2 separate regions of the Homo sapiens genome follow, and region 2 is linked to region 1. The links are contacts of gene promoters, found by promoter capture Hi-C in human tissues and cell types (Jung and others, 2019). All regions are on one chromosome and are shown on one strand. The core of a region is centred on a gene start or on the middle of the fragment in contact, and the rest is flanking DNA. Distances in the headings are between cores, read along the strand shown.

Evidence for each region. Contacts are between HindIII fragments. The study calls those that stand out against the background at their distance.
Region 2: a contact is called between a fragment that was not itself captured here and the fragment with the promoter of ATP1B2 in region 1, in 1 of the 25 tissues and cell types used here (adrenal gland).

Annotation. Positions count from the first base shown.
Region 1 is chr17:7,649,107-7,653,762 of GRCh38, reverse strand. ATP1B2 (ATPase Na+/K+ transporting subunit beta 2) reads right to left here and starts at 2,837. Exons shown (of 7, transcript NM_001678.5): 1 at 2,133-2,837; 2 at 261-389. The coding sequence starts at 2,244. RefSeq lists enhancers at 2,267-2,909, 3,184-3,684, 3,685-4,185 and a silencer at 2,778-2,927. The HindIII fragment of the contact is 20,754 bases long and covers 1-4,656 here.
Region 2 is chr17:7,596,499-7,601,076 of GRCh38, reverse strand. The region is part of intron 7 of FXR2 (FMR1 autosomal homolog 2); the gene reads left to right. Among named protein-coding and RNA genes, the nearest start is that of SOX15, 8.7 kb to the right of the region's middle. The HindIII fragment of the contact is 6,198 bases long and covers 195-4,578 here.

The DNA of each region.
Region 1 (4,656 bases), core at 1,588-4,087:
GAACACCAGAGTGGGGACAGCGGTGAATATCTGAGATCGTCTTCATGGGAGGGTGATCTCCTGTGGCTATCTGCCACATGCCCAAATCACACAGCTCCCAACTGCAGTAAATGGGAAGGTGGACAGATTTCAAGAACTTCCAAGCACGTGGGGATTGGGTCATCAAAATCAAACTCCTGGAAGGAACTATGAGTTCCTTCTGGAGGTTTGGGGGCACAAGAGCAGTTAGAGTAGCTGGCAGGGGGAGCCTCCACACTCACCCGGTGTGGCCAGTCGGTCCTGGTACTTGGGGGTATGGTCGGAGACAGTCTGCAGCATCACCCACATGGTGAGGGTGAACATGGCGGTGAGGAACCCATAAAAAACGAGGTAGAAGAGGAGGATAAAGGCTAGGGAGGAGGAAACAGGGTCAGCAGGGCCCAAGGTTCCCACCATAACCTCAACTATCCCCACACACCCCTCTACCCACTCTGAAGTTCTGCACTGGGACTGATCACAGAGCCACAGGGATGTCTTAGAGCCTTCCTCTGGAGGCAAAATGAGACAAACTGGAAACAGGCAGTTGTGTCTGGCTTCTAGCCATGACTCCCAGCCCCCTCCTGGTCCTAGGGCACAGTGAAGCCCGACCTTGTGGAGGTCTGTTATTTTGCCTCCAATTACATTTCCAACTTCTCAACCATGCATAGTCCTGACAAGGCACACATCTGTTACCTCTGCATTCGTACTCATGCTTAAAGCTGTGCTAGCATGGTGCCTTTTAAAGCGGGTACTGGCCACCATTCACAAGCAAACCCTCATACCACCCCGCAGAGACTGGACCCTCAGATTTGAATAGCAACATCTCTCTCCTGGTGCCCTTCAGAAGCCAAACTTTGAACACAGTTCCTGAAATGAAAGACCTAACACTAGCCTAGCTACAAATCTCTCAGAGACGGCTTGTTAGAACCTTCAACAGTCACCCCACCCTCAGTTCACACCCAGCACCCTGGGCAGAGGCAGGGAGGAAAGGCAGAATCTCCCACAGCCTTCCCTTGGTGGGATCTCTCCATGGCTCCCCCGCCTGAAGTAAGGACCCAAGGGCCGGCTGTTCCCACCACCCTGGACTCCCAATCCTTCCATCTCAGAGGACACTTCTTCCATGAAGTCCTCTGGCTCTCCCAAGCATTGCTGGATTCTTCTCATCCCAGGGGCTGGAGTTTGAGTTCCCTGAGGGAATGGATTGCATGGGACCCACTTCGTGTAGGCCCCGAATGGGTGGACTGATGGGGACGGTGCCCAGTGTGGAAAGATTGTAAATCGTGTCACACAGTGTCCTCTGTCCCCTGTGTCTCAACGTCCCAGCTTGACCATCCCTCTTGGAAGAATTCCACCCCTCACCTGCACCTGTGCCGGTCACCAGACCCCCTCCACCCCCCCAACCCCCGACCACTACAGCTCCCTGAGTCCTGCCATGGTCAGCCTGGGGAGGCTTCCAAGTCATCCGACTGTCACAGACACCTGGCTGGCTGATGCACACAAATCACCACAGCGACCACTCCTCCCTCCGTCACCGACATGGGAGCAAAACCTGCAGCCTCGGTAAAACTCATACTATCAGCAGCCCCCCAACCCACAAAGCAGTCCCAGAAGGCTCCCAAGGCCAGGCGGTGGGATACAGACAACTTCCGCCGTGAAGAACCCCCCTAACACACCCCCCAAGACCCGCCCCCTCATGAACGTTCCCAGGGTCCAGGGGGTGGGCACGAGCTAAAAATAGACGGGGCTGCGGAGCTAGTGAGAGCCGGAGGGAGGGAAGGGGCGCTCTTTGGAGGTGGGGGACGCCCGTGTGGAGCGGACAGGCCCCGAGAGGGAGTGTGAGCGCCGGCGCGGACACGCAGGCGGAGCTGGCGACCCCCCGCCCGAGGGGGCTCCGCGGGGGGCGGGAAGGCGGCTGTGACCTACTTTCTCCGCCTCCGCACGGCCAGCCGGGGAGATTAGACTGGCGATTCGGCCCCCTCCCAGCCCAGAGCCCGGCAGGGAGGCTGGACGCCGGGGACCCGGGAGGGGAGCTGGGGCCGCGTCGGCGGGACCCTGCGCCCCCGAGGCGTCGCCCCGCGGCTTTCCCCCGCCCCTTGCGTGCCGGCCCTGCGTACCCCAGCTGGTCCCGGTGCGGCCCATAAACTGGTGCGTCCTCGGGTTCCACACGAACTCCTTCCACTCCTCAACCACCTGCCCGCAGCTCTTCTTCTCTTTCTGGATGACCATCTTGGTGGCGCGGGGCGAGTCCGGGCGCGGGGCGGGGGGTTGCGGAGAAGCGGGGGCGCCGCGCGCTGAAGCCCTCCACACACCCAAAAGCACGGGGAGCGAAGGCGGCGCGGGCAAAGGAGACCCCCCTCAGATATGCAGCTGCTGCAGATTCCGGGGTGCACGACCACGCGCTGCGGGGTGCTGGCAGCGCGGCGGAAGATGCACCGATCCTAGGCCCCCCAACTGCGATGAAAAGGGGTGCTGTCAGAGCAGGGGAGAATAACAAGAGGAAGGGGTATGAATGCAGCTTCACCCCCCACCAAACCGTCTAGAAACAAAACGAAATGGGGTGCAAAAACAGACGGCTACAAAAACCGAGCAGAACGCAGAAAAAAAGCGGGGTACAAAAAGGCAGAGAGAGGTGGGGGAGGGGGCCGCCCCGAAATCCAAGATGCAAAGAAGCTGTGGAACGAAGCTCAAGGCTCGCTCCGCCAAGCGGAGACCACTGCACCGGTGGTGGCTCAGCCGCGGGGGTGGGGCGGGGACGCGCAGCTGGGGGACAGCCAGGGATGGGGGGCCCCCCAGGCGGAGGCTCCGCTCCTCAGCAGTGCGAGGCCCGCGGTCGCCGAGCGCGGTCTTTATACTCTGCGGCTCTGGGGGTGCCCGCCCCCTTCCCACCCCCAGAAGCTCCGCCTCCTCGCCACTGGCCCAGGCGACCTCATACATATGTAAATATGGAGAGGTTGGGCCCGCCCCCCTGACTTCTCTTAGGGACCTAGCTGTCTCTCCATTACCCCCACCCCAGGTACTAGACTGGGACAGGGTGGGAGGAAGAGATAGAGGGCGTGTCCGGGCGGAGTAGAGGGAAAGATAACCCCAGAGAAACACAACGGCAGAGAGAGAAGCCGATATATGCTCAAAGGTGGGGGCCCCAGGCAGGGAGTTAGAAAGAGACTAAGATACAGATGCGGCGGAAGAGTCCGGGAGCAGATGGGGCAGAATGTCAGAGGAATAAAGAGCTAGAGATCAAGAAAGAGAGCGAAGAGACCAGCCGGGAGGCTGGCCGAGCCAGGAGGGAAGCTAGGACAGGCCCCGCAGAGATGGATAAAGGCCACCCCCAGAGGGACGTTCCCCTGTTGGGAGCCGCTACCAGTCCCCCAGACGCCTCCTTCTCCAATCTCACAGCCCCTGTCCACACCACCTGGCTCTGTCCACGTGCAGAGGCTTCCCCATCTTCCCATCACGTCTCCCTGAAGCCCTCTCAACACCACATTCCCAGTCCCCAGCACTGCCCTGAGATCCCAGCCCTGCAGCCAGGTCTACTTCGGTTCTCTGCCTCCTGGCACCCCCACCCCCACGTCGGAACTCACCTCCTTATGTGTCTACTTGGGTCAACAAACATTTATTGAGCACCTCTATAGACTGTGTGCTGTAGCCCTGGGGAGGCCAGAGAGGTTACACTGAAGCCACATCTCTCACGGGGCTCACAGTCTAGGGCGGGAGTACACTTGCTCTACATACCACATGTTAAGAATCATTATCTCAAGCCGGGCACGGTGGCTTATGCCTGTAATCCCAGCATTTTGGGAGGCCGAGGCGGGCAGATCACGAAGTCAGGAGTTCGAGACTAGCCTTGCCCACATGGTGAAACCCCGTCTCTACTTAAAAATGCAAAATTAGGCCAGGCGCGGTGGCTCACGCCAGTAATCCCAGCACTTTGGGAGGCCGAGGTGGGTGGATCACGAGGTCAGGAGATCGAGACCATCCTGGATAACACAGTGAAACCCCGTCCCTACTAAAAATACAAAAAAAAAAAATTAGCTGGGCGTCGTGGCGGGAGCTTGTAGTCCCAGCTACTTGGGAGGCTGAGGCAGGAGAATGGCATGAACCCGGGAGGCGGAGCTTGCAGTGAGCCGAGATCGCTCCACTGCACTCCAGCCTGGGCAACAGAGCTTCCGTCTCAATAAAAAAAAAAAAAAAAATTAGCTGGGCATGGTGGTGGGTGCCTGTAGTCCCAGCTACTCAGGAGGCTGAAGCAGGAGAATTGCTTGAACCCGGGAGGCGGAGCTTGCAGTGAGCTGAGATCACGCCATTGCACTCCAGCTTGGGCAATAGAGTGAGACTTCGTCTCAAAAAAAGAGAGAAAAAAAAAATCATTATCTCGGCCAGGCCCAGTGGCTCATGCCTGTAATCCCAGCTCTATAGGAGGCCGAGGCCAATGGATCACCTGAGCAAGGGAGTTCGAGACCAGAGGTCAGGAGTTCAAGACCAGCCTGGCCAACATGGTGAAACTGCGTCTCTACTAAAACTAAAAAAATTAGCCGGGTGCGGTGGTGGGAGCCTGTAATCCCAGCTACTCAGGAGGCTGAGGCAAGAGAATTGCTTGAACCTGGAAGGTGGAGGTTGCAGTGAGCCGAGATTGTGTCACTG
Region 2 (4,578 bases), core at 2,044-4,543, 53 kb after region 1:
CTTCTGAGTAGCTGGGATTACAGGCGTGCGCCACCACACCCGGCTAAGTTTTGTATTATTAGTAAGATGGGGTTTTGCCATGTTGCCCAAGCTGGCCTCGAACTCCTGGCCTCATGTGATCCACCCGCCTCAGCCTCCCAAAGTGCTGGGATTACAGGCGTGAGCCACCACACCTGGCTGAATGGTTTTTTTTGAGACGGAGTCTCACTTTGTCACCCAGGCTGTAGTGTAATGGTATAGTCTCAGCTGACTGCAACATCCACCTTCTGGGTTCAAGCGATTCTCCCGCCTCAGCCTCCTGAGTAGCTGGGACTACAGGCTTGTGCCACCACACCCAGCTCATTTTTGTATTTTTAGTATTGATGGGGTTTCACCATGTTGACCAGGCTGGTCTCAAACTCCTGACCTCATGATCCACCTGCCTCGGCCTCCCAAAGTGCTGGGATTACAGACATGAGCCGCTGCGCCCGGCCTTGGTCTTGAACTTCTAGGCTCAAGAGATCCATCTGCCTGTACTTTGCAAAGTGCTAGGATTACAGGTGTGAGCCACCACATGCAGCCTAGACTAGAATATTTATTTTTTAGGGTGGGCGCGGTGGCTCACGCCTTTAATCGCAGCACTTTAGCACTTTGGGAGGCCGAGGCAGGCAGATCAATCCGAGGTTGGGAGTCGAGACTGGTGAAACCCCATCTTTACTAAGAAGACAAAAATCAGCTGGGCGTGGTGGCACATGCCTGTAATTTCAGCTACTCGAGAGACTGAGGCAGGAGAATCGCTTGAACCTGGGAAGTGGAGGTTGCAGTGAGCCAAGATTGCGCCATTGCACTTCAGCCTGGGTGACAAGAGTGAAACTCTGTCTCAAAGAAAAAAAGGATATGACTGGGCGCGGTGGCCCACGTCTGTAATCCCAGCACTTTGGGAGGCTGAGGCGGGCAGATCACCTGAGGTCGGGAGTTCAAGACCAGCCTGGCCAACATGGGTGAAACCCCGTCTCTACTAAAACTACAAAAATTAGCCAGGCGTGGTGGCAGGCGCCTGTTGTCCCAGCTACTCGGGAGGCTGAGGCAGGAGAATCGCTTGAACCTGGGAGGCGGAGGTTGCAGTGAGCCGAGATCACACCATTGTACTCCAGCCTGGGCAACAAGAGTGAAACTCCATCTCAAAGAAAAAAAGGATATTTCTTGTTTTTTTGTTTGTTTTTTGAGATAGCGTCTCTGTCGCCCAGGCTAGAGCGCAGTGGCGCTATCTTGGCTTACTGCAACCTCCACCTCCCAGATTGAAGCGATTCTCCTGCCTCAGCCTCCCAAGTAGCTGGGATTACAGGTGTGTGCCATCACACCTGGCTAATTTTTGTCTTTTTTAGTAGAGATGGGGTTTCACCATGTTGGCCAGGCTGATCTCAAACTATGGACCTCAGGTGATCCGCCCACCTCGACCTCCCAAAATGTTGGGATTACAGGTGTCAGCCACCACGCCTGGCCTGACTAGAGTATTTCTGTGAGATCTTTTTGAATTCTGACATCGTATAATTGTCAGATTCCCTTTCGTTGGTATTATACTATTCTAAGTGAATAGGGTGTGTGTGTTTGAATACCATTTCCATTTATCAAGGGAATTGATCTTTTTGGGAGGCTTTTTTCTGTGCCTGTGCAATTTCTGGGTCATGATAATCTTTGACTTCTTCAGGGATCCTGCTCAGGGCACTGGCAGGTAAAAATTCACCATTACCTTCAGATGATACAAACTTTATTTTTTGTTTTTGTTTTTTGTTTTGAGATGGAGTCTCAGTCTGTTATCCAGGCTGGAGTGTATGTAGTGGTGCGATCTCAGCTCACTGCAGTCTCTACCCCCCGAGCTCAAGTGATCCTCTCACCTCAGCCTTTGGGTGGGTGGGATTACAGGTGCATGCCACCATACCTGGCTATTTTTTTTTTTTTTTTGGAGACAGTTTCCCTCTGTCACCCAGGCTGGAGTGCAATGGCACAATCTCCGCTCCCTGCAACCTCTCGCTCCTGGGTTCAAGCGATTCTTGTGCCTCGGCCTCCCAGGTAGCTGGGATAATAGGCACGCGCCCCCACGTCTGGATAATTTTTGCTTTTTTAGTGTTTCACCATGTTGCCCAGGCTGGTTTTGAACTCCCGACCGCAGGTGATCCACCTGCCTTGGCCTCCCAAAGTACTGGGATTACAGGCATGAGCCACTATACCTGGCCCTAATTTCAGTATTTTTAGTAGAGACGGAGTTTCACCATGTTGGCTAGGCTGGTCGCGAACCCCTGGCCTCAAGGGATCCACTTGCCTTGGCCTCCCAAAGTGCTGGGATTATAGACATGACCCATTGCACCCGGCCTAATTTTTGTTGTTGTTTTTTAATTTTTTGAGACGGAGTCTCATTCTGTCGTCCAGGCTGGAGTGCAGTAGTGCGATCTCAGCTCACTGCAGCTTGTGTAGTTAGCGCAGAGTGAGCAAAGGGAGACCGATACAAAATTCGGTCAGAGAGTAGATCATGTAAGACATGTACGGTAGGCTGAGGAGGGGGGATTTTATTGTGCGTATACTGAGAAGCCATTGAGTTAACAGTGCCTTCTGGTTTTTTGTTTTGTTTTGTTTTGTTTTGTTTTTGAGACGGAGTCTCGCTCTGTCACCCAGGCTGGAGTGCATTGGCGTGATCTCGGCTCACTGCAAGCTCCACCTCCCAAGTTCACGCCATTCTCCTGCCTCAGCCTCACGAGAAGCTGGGACTACAGGCGCCTGCCACCACGCCCGGCTGATTTTTTTGTATTTTTTTTTAGTAGAGATGGGGTTTCACCGTGTTAGCCAGGATGGTCTTGATCTCCTGACCTCGTGATCCACCCACCTCGGCCTCCCAAAGTGCTGGGATTACAGGCGAGAGCCACTGTGCCCGGCCGAAAGTGCCTTCTGTTTTAAACTCCTGTTTCAATGACAGATGGAAAGGGGGGCAAGAATGGAAGCAGGAACAGAGCACAGTAGTCCAGGTGAGAAACTTGAACTGGAGTGCTAAAGGAAGAGAGAGAGAGTAGTTTTATGTAGGATAAATTTTACGAGTAAAACCAGTAGGACTGACAGGCTCTGTGATACTGAGAGATACATATTTGGTCTCCTGACCAGGCTCCTGGCATTCAACTTCTAAAATCCTTGGAATCTCCAGTGATGTGTGTTTTTGTGTGCTGATGAGTTGATTCATGGCTAGCCCCTCTAGGTGGCTTCATGATTAGAGGGTTGGAACTTTCAGCCTCACCCCCACCAACTTCCTGGGAGGGGAATGGGGCCAAAGGTTAAGGCAATCACTGAGGATCAGTGATTTAATCAGTCATGCCTAGTAGTGAAGCCTCTAAAAACCGGAAAGGGGCCGGGTGCAGCGGCTCACGCCTGCAATCCCAGCACTTTGGGAAGCCGAGGCAGGTGGATTGCCTGAGGTTAGGAGTTTGAGACCAGTCTGGCCAGCATGGTGAAACCCCTTCTCTACTAAAAATACAAAAAAAGGGAGGCAGAAGTTGCAGTGAGCAGAGATCATGCCACTGCACTCTAGCCTGGGTGACAGACCCCATCTCAAAAAAAAGAAAAAAAAAAAAGAAAACCCAGCTGTTCTGCAAGCTTATCTAGAAGACGCTTATAGGTCATTGTAGATCTCTTCCCCTCCCCTCCTAATGTAGTGATTTTGAACACTCAACTTAGTTTATTTTTCCAACTTTCTCTTCTTGCCTGGTATAAATCCTTGGTATAATTCAGTCCTATCCAACTTGGAAGTGGGAAGTAGTGTATTTCAATCTAGGAATGTCTCCTTTCAGGTATTGTTTCTATTTGGTGCTTACAACATGGGATTCACTCCTCTAAAACCTTTCCTGTCTTCCTGCCCCTGAACCCAGGGGTTCCTCTAAGGACTGATTGAGAAATGAAGTGAAAGCCTGGTGTTCTAGAGGCATGTTTTCTGTTTTTCTTAACCCCTCACTTTTTTTTGAGACAGAGTTTTGCTCTGTCACCAGGCTGGAGTGCAGTGGCATGACCTCGGCTCACTGTAACCTCCAACTCCCTGGTTCAAGCAATTCTCCTGCCTCAGCCTCCCAAGCAGCTGGGATTATAGGCACACCCCACCAAGGCCAGCTAATTTTTGTATTTTTAATAGAGATGGGGTTTCACTATGTTGGCAGGATGGTCTTGATCTCCTGACCTTGTGATCCACCTGCCTCAGCCTCCCACAGTGCTGGAATTACAGGCGTGAGCCACCGCGCACAGCCTACCCCTCACTTTTTACTTAAGTTGTTGAGTTTTATTTGGGGATGAGTTGATATTTGTTTGATTAAGGTAAGAGTTCCTTACACTTGCATGTACCTTGTGAGAAGTACTTTCACACCAGCCTTGTCTAATCCTCTTGCTAGTCTTGAGAATAAGATAAGTTGGATATAATCACTTAGCAGATGACACAAGAGGCAGAGTATGTTTTGTTTAAGATCACACAGATAGATACTCTTAGGGACAGATACTGTTAGGGCCAAATCCAGAACTTCGGTGTGTCCCAGTCCAAACTCTGCCCTCTTTACCTTTCCTCCCCCACAAACC